Linked DNA regions of Homo sapiens: region 1 is linked to region 2. Evidence: promoter capture Hi-C in 16 types of primary human blood cells and fetal thymus (Javierre and others, 2016). All regions are on one chromosome and are shown on one strand. The core of a region is centred on a gene start or on the middle of the fragment in contact, and the rest is flanking DNA. Distances in the headings are between cores, read along the strand shown.

Region 1 (6,962 bases), core at 727-3,226, 250 kb after region 2:
AATTGCTTGAACCCAGGAGGCAGAGGTTGCACAGTGAGCCAAGATCGCGCCACTGCACTCCAGCCTGGGTGACAGAGAGACTCTGTCTCAAAAAAAAAAAAAGTAAACATGGTGGGAAAATGTAGAAGGGGCGGCTAGGATCAAAAGGGTGAAGGGGGAGAAACAAAAAGGAAGATTAGAAAAAAAAATCGAGAACTGGGTGAGAAAGCATTATCAAAACAGAAAACAAAGTACCCCATCTGTATTTCAGGAAGGCTCTGTGATTTGCAGTCCAGGTTGTCGGGCGCCACTTTTTAGTTTCAGGGCCATCTTTTCTTTGGGATTTTCACATTCCCTTCGATGGGAGGTGGTCCAGTGGACTTGGGAAGGGCACTTCCTTTCCTGAGCTTTAAAAGCACAATCCGTCTTCACTTTAGGACTGGAGCTGGCTTGATTTCCGCAGGCTTTAAAGTCCGCAGGGAATACAGTGACCACCTCTGGGAGGGGCAGCAAGGTTTGAATGAGAAAAGCTACAAGGAGCTGGCTTCTAAGGATGCCTCTTCAATAACAGATGGGATTAGCAGCCCCCAGCACTTTAATGAGAAGGTTTCTCCTCCTCTTCCTACTCCTTACCTGCTCAGACAATATTAATTGCCAAGTCATTGTTTGGAAACCCTATGGGGCGGAGAAGAAAGGAACGGCAGAGTCAGAGGTGGTTCTGGGCCAAACACTAGGAGAAGCCTCAGAATTTGCCTGAAACAAATGCTTAGTGCTCACAGACTGCTGTGTGCTTTCCAAGAGACAAAAGAAGAAATTCAGGATTGGTGTGGCCAGTGGAAGCTTCTCCGACCACTGGTGATCACTTTCCCAGGGGACTTGGTGGGGCAGATGAGGGCCATTTCAACTGTCTCTCTTCTCGGACCTTAAATTCAAACCAGACAGGCATTTCTGAATCTTCTGCTTCTGGGGCTGAGAGGGAATGGGGGTCAGAGATGCAACCTAATTCTCAGATCCAATTTCTGTTGCAAATGATCGAATTTGTGACTCTGGAGAAGGCCTGACGTTTGTCCATTGAGGGCTGTGCTCCGGGTCACAGCAAACCAGGGCAGACACCCTCAGCCATCTCACTTGGCTCTGTGCCTGAAGCCACCAAGGTTTCCAAAGCGGCTGGAATCCCGGTGGGGGCTCACCACCTCTCCAAACCTCTTGCTGGCCTCTGGCTTGGCTTTGGAGTGGAAGCAAAAGACTGAGAGTCCGGGATTTTCTCCCTCCGTTTCTGAGACAGCAGGATGTACTAAAAAAGCACTGACTGGTCCAGTAGAAGACCGAGGTCCAAACCCAGACTCTGTCACCAACTCACAGTGACCCTGGGGAAATCTTTTCTTACCTTTGAACCTCGATTTCCTCATCTTTAAAACGGGGACAGTGGTCTGTGCCACGTGACGCCCATCTCACAGGGATGCTCAAATAATCAAAAGAGATCGTGCAAGCCTCAGGGCTTTGTGAACGCTAAACTGTGAGAACGTGAGGGATTTTACCTCCGAGGTAACCGGGTCTGAAGCTATTACAGTAATTCACTGGCGGGGAAGGAGATGCGCTGAGCATTGCCTGGGAGTAAGCAGTCCTGGCCTCAGTTGCATCCCCAAGTCTAAGGCGGGTGCACCGGAGAAAGGGAACAAACTCAAGTCACAGAGGTGTGTGTGTCGGGGTGAGGGATCCCCGGGATGGAAGCCTCCCTCGCGCCCTCGGAGAGTCCCAGAGGGTTGGGCGGAGGCGCGCGGAGACGACAACACTGTCCCCGCGGTCGCGCGCACCGGGCGCGCGGAGGCTTCCCCGAGCCCAGGCAAGCGGCCGCGGCACAGCGCCTGATAGTCCCGAGGCTGGCCCGGGCTGCGCCGGTGCCAATCGGCGCGCAGCCCCCCGCGGCGCTCTCCCCGCCCCGCCTCCCCGCCCCCCTCCCCAGCTTCACTTGGCAGCGCGGACCCGGCTCCTGGCTGGAAAGCTACCGCCAAGCCACAGCCGAAGGCAAGCCCGAGCGGCGCCATCCCCAACCCCGCGCCGCCGACCGCCGGCCCGTGGGCGACGGGCATGCTGGCATGGCAGGACGGCGGGGCCAAGGCGGCTCCCTCCCACCACAAGATTTCTTTCTCTGTCCTGGACATCCTGGACCCACAGAAATTCACCCGCGCAGCGCTCCCTGCCGTGCGCCCGGCTCCCCGGGAAGCCAGGAAAAGTTTGGCGGAGGTCGAAGCGGGGAAAGATGCCAGCTCCAGGGACCCTGTCCGACAGCTGGAGACCCCTGGTAAGATGCAAGGCGGCCCCGGCCCCAGGAGGCCTCAGCCCCAACAATGCGGAGTGTATGGGGGAACAGCCGGGCCCGGTGAGTGGCCCTTAACAGCGTCTTCCTCAGAGAGAAGGCGCACGGGACCGGGTGCGAAGTGTAGCCCCCGCCTCGGACTTGGATAGAGGCAGAGAGGAGGCTCCCCGCATTACAGGGCAGGGATTTGCCGCATCCCTGCTCACCCGCCAAGCTCACCCGCACCACAGTTCTGATGCTCGCGGTGGAAACTTACCTGGCGCCTGTCTTGCCAGGCTTACTCATTTATCGGGCATTTAATGCGCTTGCCACGTGCTAGGACCTGGGCTAAGGGCTGGGATAAAGGTGATGAAAACTTCGGAACCTGAGAGATGGACAGCATCATTAACATCACCTCCATTTTATGGATGGGGGAGCTGACGCTAAGGCTTGCGCCGGGGGTCTTCGTGAGTAGCGAGGTCAGGTGCCACCCGGAGACGCCTGCGGGGCTGGGCTGCCCCAGGCGCTCAAGCTCCCCAGACTCAACTGTTAACTGGGACTGGGCTGGGGGCGGGGCTCGGATGGAGTGTTGGGAAGCTTTCGGTACTTTCTTCTCGAAACCCTTTCTGAATTACTCCCAACGCTGGCGGACACCTGATGAAGGGGTTAGGAAAGTTTGTGGCTGGAAGGAAGGACGGAAGACAGCAGGAGTCCTGCTGGGATCAGACAGGGAAAGGCGGCTCCCTGGAGGGTCAGAGGCTCAGGTCATCGGGGGAGGCTGGATGCCGCGCAGCCCCCTGCTCCCCTCCCCAAGTTTGGCGGTGATTGCCTGGGGCCCGGGGCGCCTCTGGCGGCCGCACTTGGGCCCAGGCAGGCGGCCTGGTAATTGTTCGGATCTTCTCTCCGAGGGGCCGCCCTCCCTTCCCCCACCCTCGTGATCGATATTCTATTACTGGCGCCTGCATATCTCCTGCCCGCAGCTTGCAGGTACCGACTTCAAACCCCCTTTCCCTGTCTGATCCTAATATTGTTCGATTAAAACTTACCTTTAATAGATGACATCTATCGATCCGGCCCCGCACAAATCTGAAACTCTATTAACACGGCGGGAGAGAGAAGATGGGAAAGGGAATTTCACTTTAAAGCGGGGGCGGGGGTGGGGTGGGGCAGAGAGCTTAATAACTTCTTTTTTAATTGCTGGGAGTCCTAGATCAAAATAGGCTTCTAGGGTCTGGGGAAGGCACAGCCCTAAAAGCGTTTGACATCTAGATGTCTTAATACAATGATCCTACCCCCCAGTATGGTTACCCAATAATGTCACTATTTTTTCTTAATGCGGGGTGTCATTCATTCATTTGGCGTACATTTCTTGGACGCCTACTTGATGGCAGATTTGTAAAGGGCAAGAGGACACCATTCCCCTAAACCCGCTGGCGAGGATGTGTAGTCCGGCCTAAGGGGAGCGCGATGTGGGGACAGGAGCAGCACCCAGAGTTGGGTTGGGGGGACAGCTGCTTGCTCTAGGGAGGACGAGGACGAGGTTTGGGGACCTGGAGAGGCTTCTGTTCACCGACCCCTTCTCCCCTAGATGCTGCGGGCCCAGGCGCCGGCCAGGCGTCCCCCCTGGAGGGTTCCGAGGCGGAAGAGGAGGAGGATGCGGAGGATCCGAGGAGGCCGCGGCTGCGGGAGCGGGCTGCGCGCTTGCTGCCGGGCCTAGCGCGCTCACCTGACGCCCCGGCCGGGGCATTGGCGTCTGGGGAGCCCTGCGAGGACGGCGGGGGCGGCCCTGTGAGGTCCCCCCCGGGATCCCCCGGCTCCCCGCGTCCCAGGCGCCGGCGCCTGGAGCCCAACTGCGCCAAGCCGCGGCGCGCGCGCACCGCCTTCACCTACGAGCAGCTGGTGGCCTTGGAGAACAAGTTCCGGGCCACGCGCTACCTGTCAGTGTGCGAGCGCCTGAACCTCGCGCTGTCTCTCAGCCTCACCGAGACGCAGGTCAAAATCTGGTTCCAGAATCGCAGGACCAAGTGGAAGAAGCAGAACCCGGGTGCCGACGGCGCGGCGCAGGTGGGGGGTGGCGCGCCCCAGCCAGGGGCGGCGGGGGGCGGCGGCGGCGGCGGCTCGGGGGGCAGTCCTGGCCCTCCCGGCACCGGCGCTCTGCACTTCCAGACTTTCCCCTCCTACTCCGCGGCCAATGTCCTCTTCCCGTCCGCCGCCTCCTTCCCGCTGACGGCTGCCGCCCCCGGGAGCCCTTTCGCGCCGTTCCTTGGGCCTTCCTACCTGACCCCCTTCTACGCCCCGCGTCTATGAATCCGGAGCCCCCTGGCCCCTCTTTCGCGGGATTCACGAGGGATTGGCATCGTCGTGTGCCCTCGGCTCCTCCACCGGGGGTGCAGGTGCGCGGGTGTCAGCGCACCCCTGCCCGCCGCGCGCACCCGCGATCCTCGCGGGCCACCAAGGGGTCAGGGATCTGCCGTCCTTCAAAGTGTCCGGGGACGGAGGCTGACCTCAAGCCTTGCCGTTTCTGGACCTTGCTGTTCACTTTGGGTCAGGTTTAATTCAGTTCAGGGGCTAGTTTTTGAGGGTCTGGGTGTTCGGCGCGGGGCTAACCAAGATGCCAGGAGGGAAATACAGGGAGCAGAGACGCCCTGGCTGCCAGCTGCTGGCGGCTAGGATGGAACCTTTAAAGGTGCTGGCTCATCAGAGGGTGAGAAACAGTCTCTGTTCACAACTGACAGCTTCCCCTCCTCGTGCTCGATGGTTCAGCCCAAACCCAGAGAGTTCTTCCAAATCCTGAACGAGGCTGGGGAGAGCTTGGTCCTGGAGCACAGACGGCCGCTCTGAAACGGACTATTTTTAAAATGCATAAAACTCCACATTTCTAGATCTTTACTTAAGATTCGGACTGGAACACAATACTTGTTCCAAATAACCTCCCCAGGCTATTCCTGAGAGAGGGGGTACCTTGGTTTTTGGAGTAGGCCAGAAGTTTGTGGTAGGAAAGGTGACTGATTTGCAGCTAGACTCACCTGCTAAAGTAGACACGGGTCTGTTGCACTGCAGGTTTTGAGAACAGCCTGGACCAAACCACACAGTGACCCCAAAGGCATAAAAATGATAATGAAGGCAGCGATGGCTCAACTAATATCATGAAGTCTATGCATGAGGCTGCCTACTTTGATTTGCAGTAGTTGATACTTTAAAACTTCAGTCCTGGCTTATCTGCCTGTCCCAGGGATTCCTGGGCTCCCAATAGTGAGCCAGGATGGGGAAGAGCTAGCTCCATCAGCACACACTACATGTGGACAGTTGGACTGGACTGTTTTTTAAAAGCACAAACTCAACATTTTTAGATCTTCGTCTAGGATTCTGACTTGAAAACAATTCTTGTTACAAACAGACTCTTTATGGTGGTGAACAAGCAGAGATTGTAAGGGCCCATGAAAGCAATACTTGGGTGTGAAGAGCCGTCATATTCCTAATGGATTCACCTCCAGGAATCTGATACATGGACATGCATTTTAACTGCTGCTTTTATTACCTCCCTTAAAAAATTAGTTCTGTGAAATTCCCTTGCCACTTTTGCTTGGAATACATTTCCTTTAGTTTTCTACCTAATATAATCTTGTAGCCCACGTCTCAGAAACCCAGAGGTCCCCAGTTGTGTCATGTATGTTTCATTCTCACTTTTGATTACTTGAGGCCAGCCGAGATCTGTGTGGATACCATATTCCTTGCTATTTTTTGGTAGCCTGTGCTACTAACAATCAAATTTAATGGTCAATGGCTTCAAAGTAAAGCACCCTGTTTGGTATTATGGATTACATTCCATGACTATGATCTTGAAATATCTAGTTCTGTTATCAGGAATGATAGAAAATATTCCCCATTTCTCCTAAATTAAGTGAAGACTTCATGGTTCATGTGACTCTCATAATATTTGATAGTATGTATTATTTAATTACTTAATATCCACTAATTAGACTCTTTTCCTTCTAAAGAAGAATGTCCCCCAAACAACACATTGTAACTTTCTAAAAGACAGTTGGTGCCAGATGAGATTAAAAATGCAGTTACTCTACTAGATAATATTCACCTTACACTTCGGTAAACACTCCTTTAATAACTATTTGTTGGTTTCTCAAAAGCAATATCCCATATTAAACAGACAATTCAAATGTGACAATTCCTCTGTAACAAAGAAGCTGAATTCTGTAATAAATGGGAAACATTTCATTCCAGTCTTCTCAGGTACCAGAATCATGGACTTCAGTAGAAGAGAGGGAATAGGGAGAGAGGTGGGAGGCTGATCTGTTCGTGGCCCAGCACGGTGCTGTAATTCCTGACCCTTCTGGTTTCCACAGATCATTGCAGAGTAATGCTTGAAGCGTGTGACTTTGGACTTCTGCTGCTTTAAAAGGCCCAGTGGCTTTCCAACCAAATCCTTAGACTCAATCTATTGGTGTGTTTGTCTAATAAATTCTTTTTGTAGTAAATTTATTTTTATTTCTTGTCTCATTATTCCTTGTTCTCTATTAGCAATGCTTTCAAATAATAAGTTTATAATTATCAGAAGGTAATTATAAAGTATGTATGTATCTCTCCTTCTCCCAATAATCCCTAAATAGGGAATATTTCTACACTAACACTCCTTTCTTCAGCCATTTCAGACCCAAGCTAGATATACCCA
Region 2 (6,662 bases), core at 510-3,009:
AAACCAGACCTTGAGCAGATAGACCTAGGTCTCTGGCTGTGGCAGGAGCTTGGGAAAGCCACCGAGATCTGTATTCTTTCCGCAGGCCTCACAGAGCGCCTTCCGTGTGTTGGGCACCAGGCTGGAGGAGTTCAGGGAACAGGATGAGCTGGAGCCAGGCCCTGTACTCCTCACCCTTGAGAAGCTCGTGGTCTAGAGGGAGGGTGTCTGGAGAGCTGTGAATACAGTGACACTTGAGGATCCCATGACTAAGAACTCGCAGCTGAAGCCCATGGGAAGCCCAGGGCTTGTAGAGGAGCAGGGCCAGCCTGGCTGTAGCACGCCAGGGAAAGCCTTGCGGAGCAGGGATACTTGATTTGGCCTTGAAGGGTGAGAAGAAGTGGCTTAGAAACCGTTGGGTCCAGCCTCCTTGTTTTACAAATGAGGCAGCTGCAACCTGGAGCAGGCAGTAACTGCCTCACTGGCTCCGCCTCCGCCTTCCCTCCTGCCCCTCTAGCCCCACTTCCTGGGCCTGCATTCAGGCCTCTGCCTGTTGCCTGGTGTCTGGACGCCAGTCTTGGTGGCCCTCCCTCAGTCAGGTCTCTTCAGCCCTTACCAGATGTGACACTGGTGCCACTCTGCTCATGGGCCTCAGCCTGTGAGGTCTCCATGGGGTGTCACCCCCAGCTGCAAGGATAGGGACTCAGCTTTGCTCCTCCCCATGTCCCCAGCACTACTGAGGCAGGGCAGACAGCAGGCACCTGAGGTGTGTTTGCTCGATGGCAGCCTTGGTCACTGCAGCGAGGAGTAGAGCTGCTGTGACCATTCAGCTCTTCTGCTACCACCCCATCCTTTCCAGTTCACATTTGCTGTGTGATGTGATTACTTCTCACCAGCCCCGCTGCCACCACCCTGGTTCCACCTGCTGTTCTCTCGCAAGGATTCTTGTGGTAACTGGTCCCCTGCCTCTGGCTCTTTTTAACCTGTTCTCCACCCAGCAGCCAGAGAGAATCCCAGTCAGAGCTGTCCTTCTCTGTGTAGCAGCTTCCACTGGCTTTACACTGAATGCTTAGCAAACACCCAGCCCTTACTAGGATGTACATGGCCCCATATATTCTTGTCCATGTGACTGCTTTGACCTCATCTCTGCCACTCTGCCCCCTCTGCTCGGTCCCCACTGGCCTCCCTATTCCAATATGCCAAGCGTGAGCCTGCCTCAGGCCTTTGCACTTTTTCCTTGGCCTGGAGCCCTCTCCCCACAGTAGGACATACTCCCTCCCTCCTTCCTTCTCTGGCTACTCAACCTACAGTTCAGTCCCAGCGCCAGCGCCCACCCCTTACCCCCACCACACTTTCTCTCCTCTTTTCCTTTTTCCCTCTTGGGCACTTAGCACTTTTAAACATGTCCCTGTGGATCTTGACCGAGTCCTTATACTAGAATGGGAGCTTTGAGAAAGCAGAGGATGTCTCTCTTACTTGTTGTTGAATGCACGGGGCCCAGCCCGTGGCAGGTGCTCAGTGGATGTTTGTGGATGGATGAGCTTGCAGGTTCCTGTCACCTGGCCTCTTCTCATTCACCATTGTCTTACTCTCTCTCTGGCTGCTGCTCCAGTTCACGACTGAGTGGGTGCGACTAGAGTAGCTCTGACCAAAAAGAAGGGACCTCAAGGGTGAGGAGCCATCTGGAGGTCCCGAGGGAGGAGCCCTACCCGGGTCCAGCTGTGCAGTTGGCTGCAGTGGCCGCCTCTGTGCTTGGTCCCTTCTCAGGGTGGGACTGCCTGGTGTTGGCTTCAGAGTTGGTTCCAGGACATGTGGGCCCAAGGTCAGCTGAGCTGCTCTTCCAAGAGGTGTGGCCTGAGCCCCTGCCAGGAGGAGCACGGCCTCCCAGCCCTGGCCAGGGAAGGAAAACTCATCTCAGAAAGGGAAAGCAGTCAGGGGAGAGCAGGCGGCTTTGCTGGAAGGGATTCTACCATGTGTTCTCTTGTGGCCACACAGATTAGAATCTGTGCTTTCTTCCTGAACTCTCCTTGCTTTGTTGGAAAGTATCCTTCTTTCTGCTGCTTTTTGTTACTGGCCTGTCCGGGCCCAGAACCACCCAGTGTGCAGTGCTTTGGGTCCATCTGTGGTCTTCCTCCTCCTCTTCTCTCCCCTTGGCTCCAGATGAGAGGTCTGTTGTGGGGAGCAGCCCTGTTGGAGATGGGCTTTCTCATTGCTCAGTTTGCTTATGCGCCCAGAACACATTGACTGGGCGTCAGTGCCTGGCCCGGCCTGGCTCAGCGCTGCCTGCGCTATAGCGTGGGCCAGCAGGAAGGTGTTGGAGGTGCAGCTACACTGAGGGTCTTGGGAAGTGTGTTAGTTCATATCATGTTGCTATGAGGAATACCTGAGGCTGGGTAATTTATAAAGAAAAGAGATTTACTTGGCTTATGGTTCTGCAGGCTGTATAAGAAGTATGGCACCGGCCAGGCATGGTGGCTCACGCCGGTAATCCCAGCACTTTGGGAGGCTGAAGAGGGCGGATCACGAGGTCAGGAGATCAAGACCATCCTGGCTAATATGGTGAAGCCCCGTCTCTGCTAAAAATACAAAAAATTAGCTGAGTGTGGTGGCAGGCGGGCGCCTGTAGTCCCAGCTACTTGGGAGGCTGAGGCAGGAGAATGGCTCGAACCTGGGAGGCGGAGCTTGCAGTGAGCCGATATCACAGCACTACCGCACTCCAGCCTGGGCGACAGAGTGAGACTGTGTCTCCAAAAAAAAAAGTATGGCACCTGCATCTGTTTCTAGTAAGGCCTCACGAAGCTTCCAGTCATGGCAGAAGGTGAGGGGAGAATAAGTGTGTCACGAGGTGAGAGAGGGAGCAAGAGGGAAGGGAGGAGGTGCCAGACCTGTTAAACTACCAGCCCTCACATGAACTAGAAGAGCGAGGACTCCCTGATCACCATGGGGAGGCCACCAAGCCATTCATGAGGGATCCGCTCCCATGACCCAAACACCCCCCACCAGGCCCCGCCTCCAGCATTGGGGGTTACATTTCAACATGAGATTTGGAGGGGACGAACATCCAAACTGTATGCCCAGAGGTCCAGGTACCTCCTCCCTGTCCTTGAGCCTCATGCCACCTGCTGAGGGGCAGGGGTGCACCCATTTCTACCCCATTATACAGGAAGGAAACTGTGGCTCAGAGAGCCCAGGGAGGGGCTGCCCTGGTCACAGATTTCAAGTCCAGGCCCTTGTCTGCTTCCCCCAGCACCTTCTCGCATGGGCCCTGTTCCAGAGGCTGTGATCGCCTTGGAGCCCCTCCAGGCCTTGGGGAGAGACACACGATGTAAATAACTGAAGAAATACTGAAAATAATCTTAGTCTAGTGATGACATCCACGGGACAGAATGTGAGATAAGCTGATGCTAGCATTTGCTTTGAACAGCCAGCAAAGGTTCAGAGGAAGTTGACGGGGTTTTGCTTTAGCTTCCTAAACTGGTAACATCATCCCCGTGTAAATACCATCAAGATAACAACAGGAACGATGGAAAATAATTTTTCTTTTGTTTTCTAATCAGACTAAGAAGATAACAAGTGGAGGTTTAAGATTTTAAAGGAAAGCATGACTGTGGGGGAGGCCGGGACTGGTATCAGCATAGGCCACTTTGGAATTATGGGAGCAGGCCCCAGAGGCGCAGCTCACCCTGGGTCCCCAGAGTCAGGCCTTAGTCACAGAGCGGGAAAGTCTCAATGTGCAAGGGAAAGTCACCAGGGTCCTCGCAACCCTGGGTGTCATGTGGCACTGGAGGAGGAGCTCGTGGCCAATTCTGAGGCCTGTTGAGGGGTGTGAGGACTCGGTCTCCCTCCCAGCCTTCTTAGGGGTTCATGCCATGGTTCTGGTTCCCCTGTTTTAAAAAACTAAATGCTGGTGAAACAACTGTCTTTCCCTCAAAGAAAGATGTGGGAAAAAGGGAAAAAAAGGACTGACCAGTGCTCAGCATTTTGCCTTTCCCAGCACAGGGCCCACCTGCCTGGGGGGAGATGGCCCTGAGGCTCAGCTGTGCCCATGGCCCTGGCTTCGCTTGCACTGCCGGCAGCCATGGCTGGGTCCAGTTCCCCTTTCCCCCACTCTGGCCAGTGCCTTCCTCTGCTGAGTGGGCTCTTCCTTCCAGTGTTCTAACATTAGCTGCTCCCCTGGAAGGCAGCCCAGACGTTTGACCTTGGAGCACTGTGCTCCCTCAGCTCCTTCCCGCACGCCCACACTCAGGCCAAGGGCCTGTTCTTTTGTTTCCAGAGTGACCACCTCCCTTGGCCAGGCCCGCTCTTCTTTCTGCAGCCCATCCTCCCTTAAGGCTGAAGACCAAAGGGAGCTGGTGGCTGGCTGCTCCTGGGCAGAGGGCAGCATGGAGCTCCAGGCTGCCTGACTTTCCACGTAACAACCAATACTTGTCCTTTGGAGGGGCTGATCTGGTAGCTAGAACAAGCACTTCCTTCTGTACTTGTCAGATTAGGATGCCAAGGCTAAATGACTTTTCTTACCTGAGGAGTTAGTGGCCATGTCAGGCCTTGCACCCAGTTGCCTGGGCACTGGGGTTCTTCATACTTCGGGCCATGCTAAGTTGGCACTTTGAGCTCAACAGCCCCAGCCAGGATCTCTGGCAGGCCCCAGGCTGGCCTGAAGTTAGAATGTGGGAGTGCACAGGGTCCAGGGCAGCCTGATGCCTTTCACCCTGGGCAGGCAGAGATACCAAGGGGCCTGCCCATGCTTTGGCTAATCCCAGAGCCTCAGGAGTCAGGGCCAGCGTATCTCTATCCGCATCTTTGAGAGTCTTCACACAAAGGTGCTGTTCCCTCCTCAGCTTCTCTTTCTTGTCTCAGGCCTGGATCTCCTTTTTGCTTTCGACTGCCACGGTCTCGCGGGGTTGCATTTCGGAAGTGTGGGTGCTCCACTCGTTCCCCCGCAGGGCATGAGCGCGAGCCTCCCCCTGTTGCTCTGTGGCTCCCTGTAACACCGTGTCAGGAGATGGAAAAGGTGATTTGATTTCTTTAGTGGATAATGTGCAGAGCAAAGTTACCAAGAACCGTGGTTGTGGCCTGGCATTTTCTGCAGGGCCAGTTCCTCATTTGGAGCCTTAATTGTGTCTTTATTTAAGCCAGGGCTGCTTTCTTTAGTCAGACAGATGGCCCTGAAGCCTCCATTTGATTTCCAGCTTTTGCCTTTCCTACGAGGATCTAATTCCAAAAACCTTCTCTCGTGATCTGAGGAGTCTCACAGAGACGAGGCCCTGCCCCGGCGTGGGCTCGGGAACAGAGGCTTCACGGTGGGAGAAGCACAAAGGGGAAATGTGCTCTGGTCTTATTTCACTGCAGACCTCAGCTAGGGCTCGGGTGCTCGCAGAGTGCAGACACTGAGTGTCTTGTGAAACCTCAGAGGGCCGAGGGGTTCCCTCGGCCTGGTGGGGCCTCCACACCGTGATTGGCTCATTCTTCCCACTGTGGGTGCAGGAGGTTCAAAGTGTTGGAAAGGCCGTGTGTATAGGAATGGTAAATACCAGTGGGAATGTTAGCATATACTGGGAAGCCTGGGGAAAAAAAGGCCCTGGCCAACCTAGAGCCAAGCAGGAACTCTGCTGGTTTGCCCATGTGGAGTTGGACCAGGGAAACCTGCCAGCGGTCAGGGTACACTGGGGCCTGGCACCCTGGAAAGCTGTCAGTACATGACATTCTGGCCTGGCCGCCACTGGCTTAGCCTCACGGATGGGGCTCAGAAAGCAAGATGGGCCGTGATCTGGTCTTGAGGTCAAGCACGAAATCAGTCAGGGTTCCTCCTTTGTCAGCACCAGAGGCCATCTCCAGCTAACTCACCCCGAAAGAGAACTCCCTGAAGCACAGGGCGAGCTCGCAGGGCTGGAGAGGAGGGGGCCAGTCGGGCCTCAGAAAGGGCAGGGTGGGAGCAGCTGGGAGGACTTTAGAAGCAGGTGCTCACGGGCAGGCTGAGGGCCTCCTTCCTGGGCGGATCAGCCCCAGCTCTGTGGTTCAGGAGTCAGCCATGGAACCAGTGTCTGGTCAGCCAGGCTTGAGTTCTGGGCCTAGCCTGGGGCCAGGGGAGGTGGAGGCACCTTGGTTGACAGTCCCACTAAGACATGATCCAGTGACGATGAAGGTATCCCAATTCAGAATTGGGGTGCTGCTGACAGAAGAAGGGGGCCGCACCACTGGGCTGCGCGGTTTCATCTGTTCAGTGAGGAGCAAGCAGTGGCTTGCCCGGGGTGGGGAAATGGAGAAGTCGTTCTTTCGAGTTAGAAAATCATAGTGTGCACCATTGCTGGTTCATGGGAACCCTTAGGTAGAGTGTTGGAGACCGGCATGAGGAGGCCAGGCTAGCCTGCAGGGCGGCTCTGACACTCAGGCTGGCCTCTCAGCCCTTCCCCACTGAGGTTTGACTTTGCGTGAGGCCAGCGATTTTGGGAGACAGTGACTTCTGCCCAGTGAAAATCCACTTCCGTTGCCTGACATCCACTGGGTGTGTGGCTGCAGGAGTGGGACAGGCTGGCGCTGACAGGTGGCTGTAGCCATGGTGCCTGCTGTCAGCTGGGATGTTGGAACCAAGACAGCCCTCCTTTCTCAAGAAGCTTCCGTTCCCATGGAGCAGAGAATCAGTACAGGAACAGATGTTCTGATACCTGCCATGTTCATTAAATGAG

The links. Contacts are between HindIII fragments. The CHiCAGO score rates a contact against its expected background, and 5 or more counts as called.
Region 1: a contact is called between the fragment with the promoter of NKX1-2 here and the fragment with the promoter of FAM53B-AS1 in region 2, in 6 of 17 cell types (total CD4 T cells, activated CD4 T cells, total B cells and 3 more). The highest score is 6.6, in total CD4 T cells.

What each region holds. Positions count from the first base shown.
Region 1 is chr10:124,445,049-124,452,010 of GRCh38, reverse strand. NKX1-2 (NK1 homeobox 2) reads left to right here and starts at 1,976. Exons shown (of 2, transcript NM_001146340.3): 1 at 1,976-2,281; 2 at 3,864-6,768. The coding sequence starts at 2,068. The coding sequence ends at 4,582. RefSeq lists enhancers at 1-551, 552-1,107, 4,424-5,291. The HindIII fragment of the contact is 2,053 bases long and covers 822-2,874 here.
Region 2 is chr10:124,699,125-124,705,786 of GRCh38, reverse strand. It overlaps FAM53B-AS1 (FAM53B antisense RNA 1), which reads right to left and starts at 1,759. Exons shown (of 2, transcript NR_120631.1): 1 at 1,456-1,759. The region is part of intron 2 of FAM53B (family with sequence similarity 53 member B); the gene reads left to right. RefSeq lists enhancers at 1-557, 5,050-5,199, 5,385-6,055, 6,130-6,329. The HindIII fragment of the contact is 3,544 bases long and covers 1-2,780 here.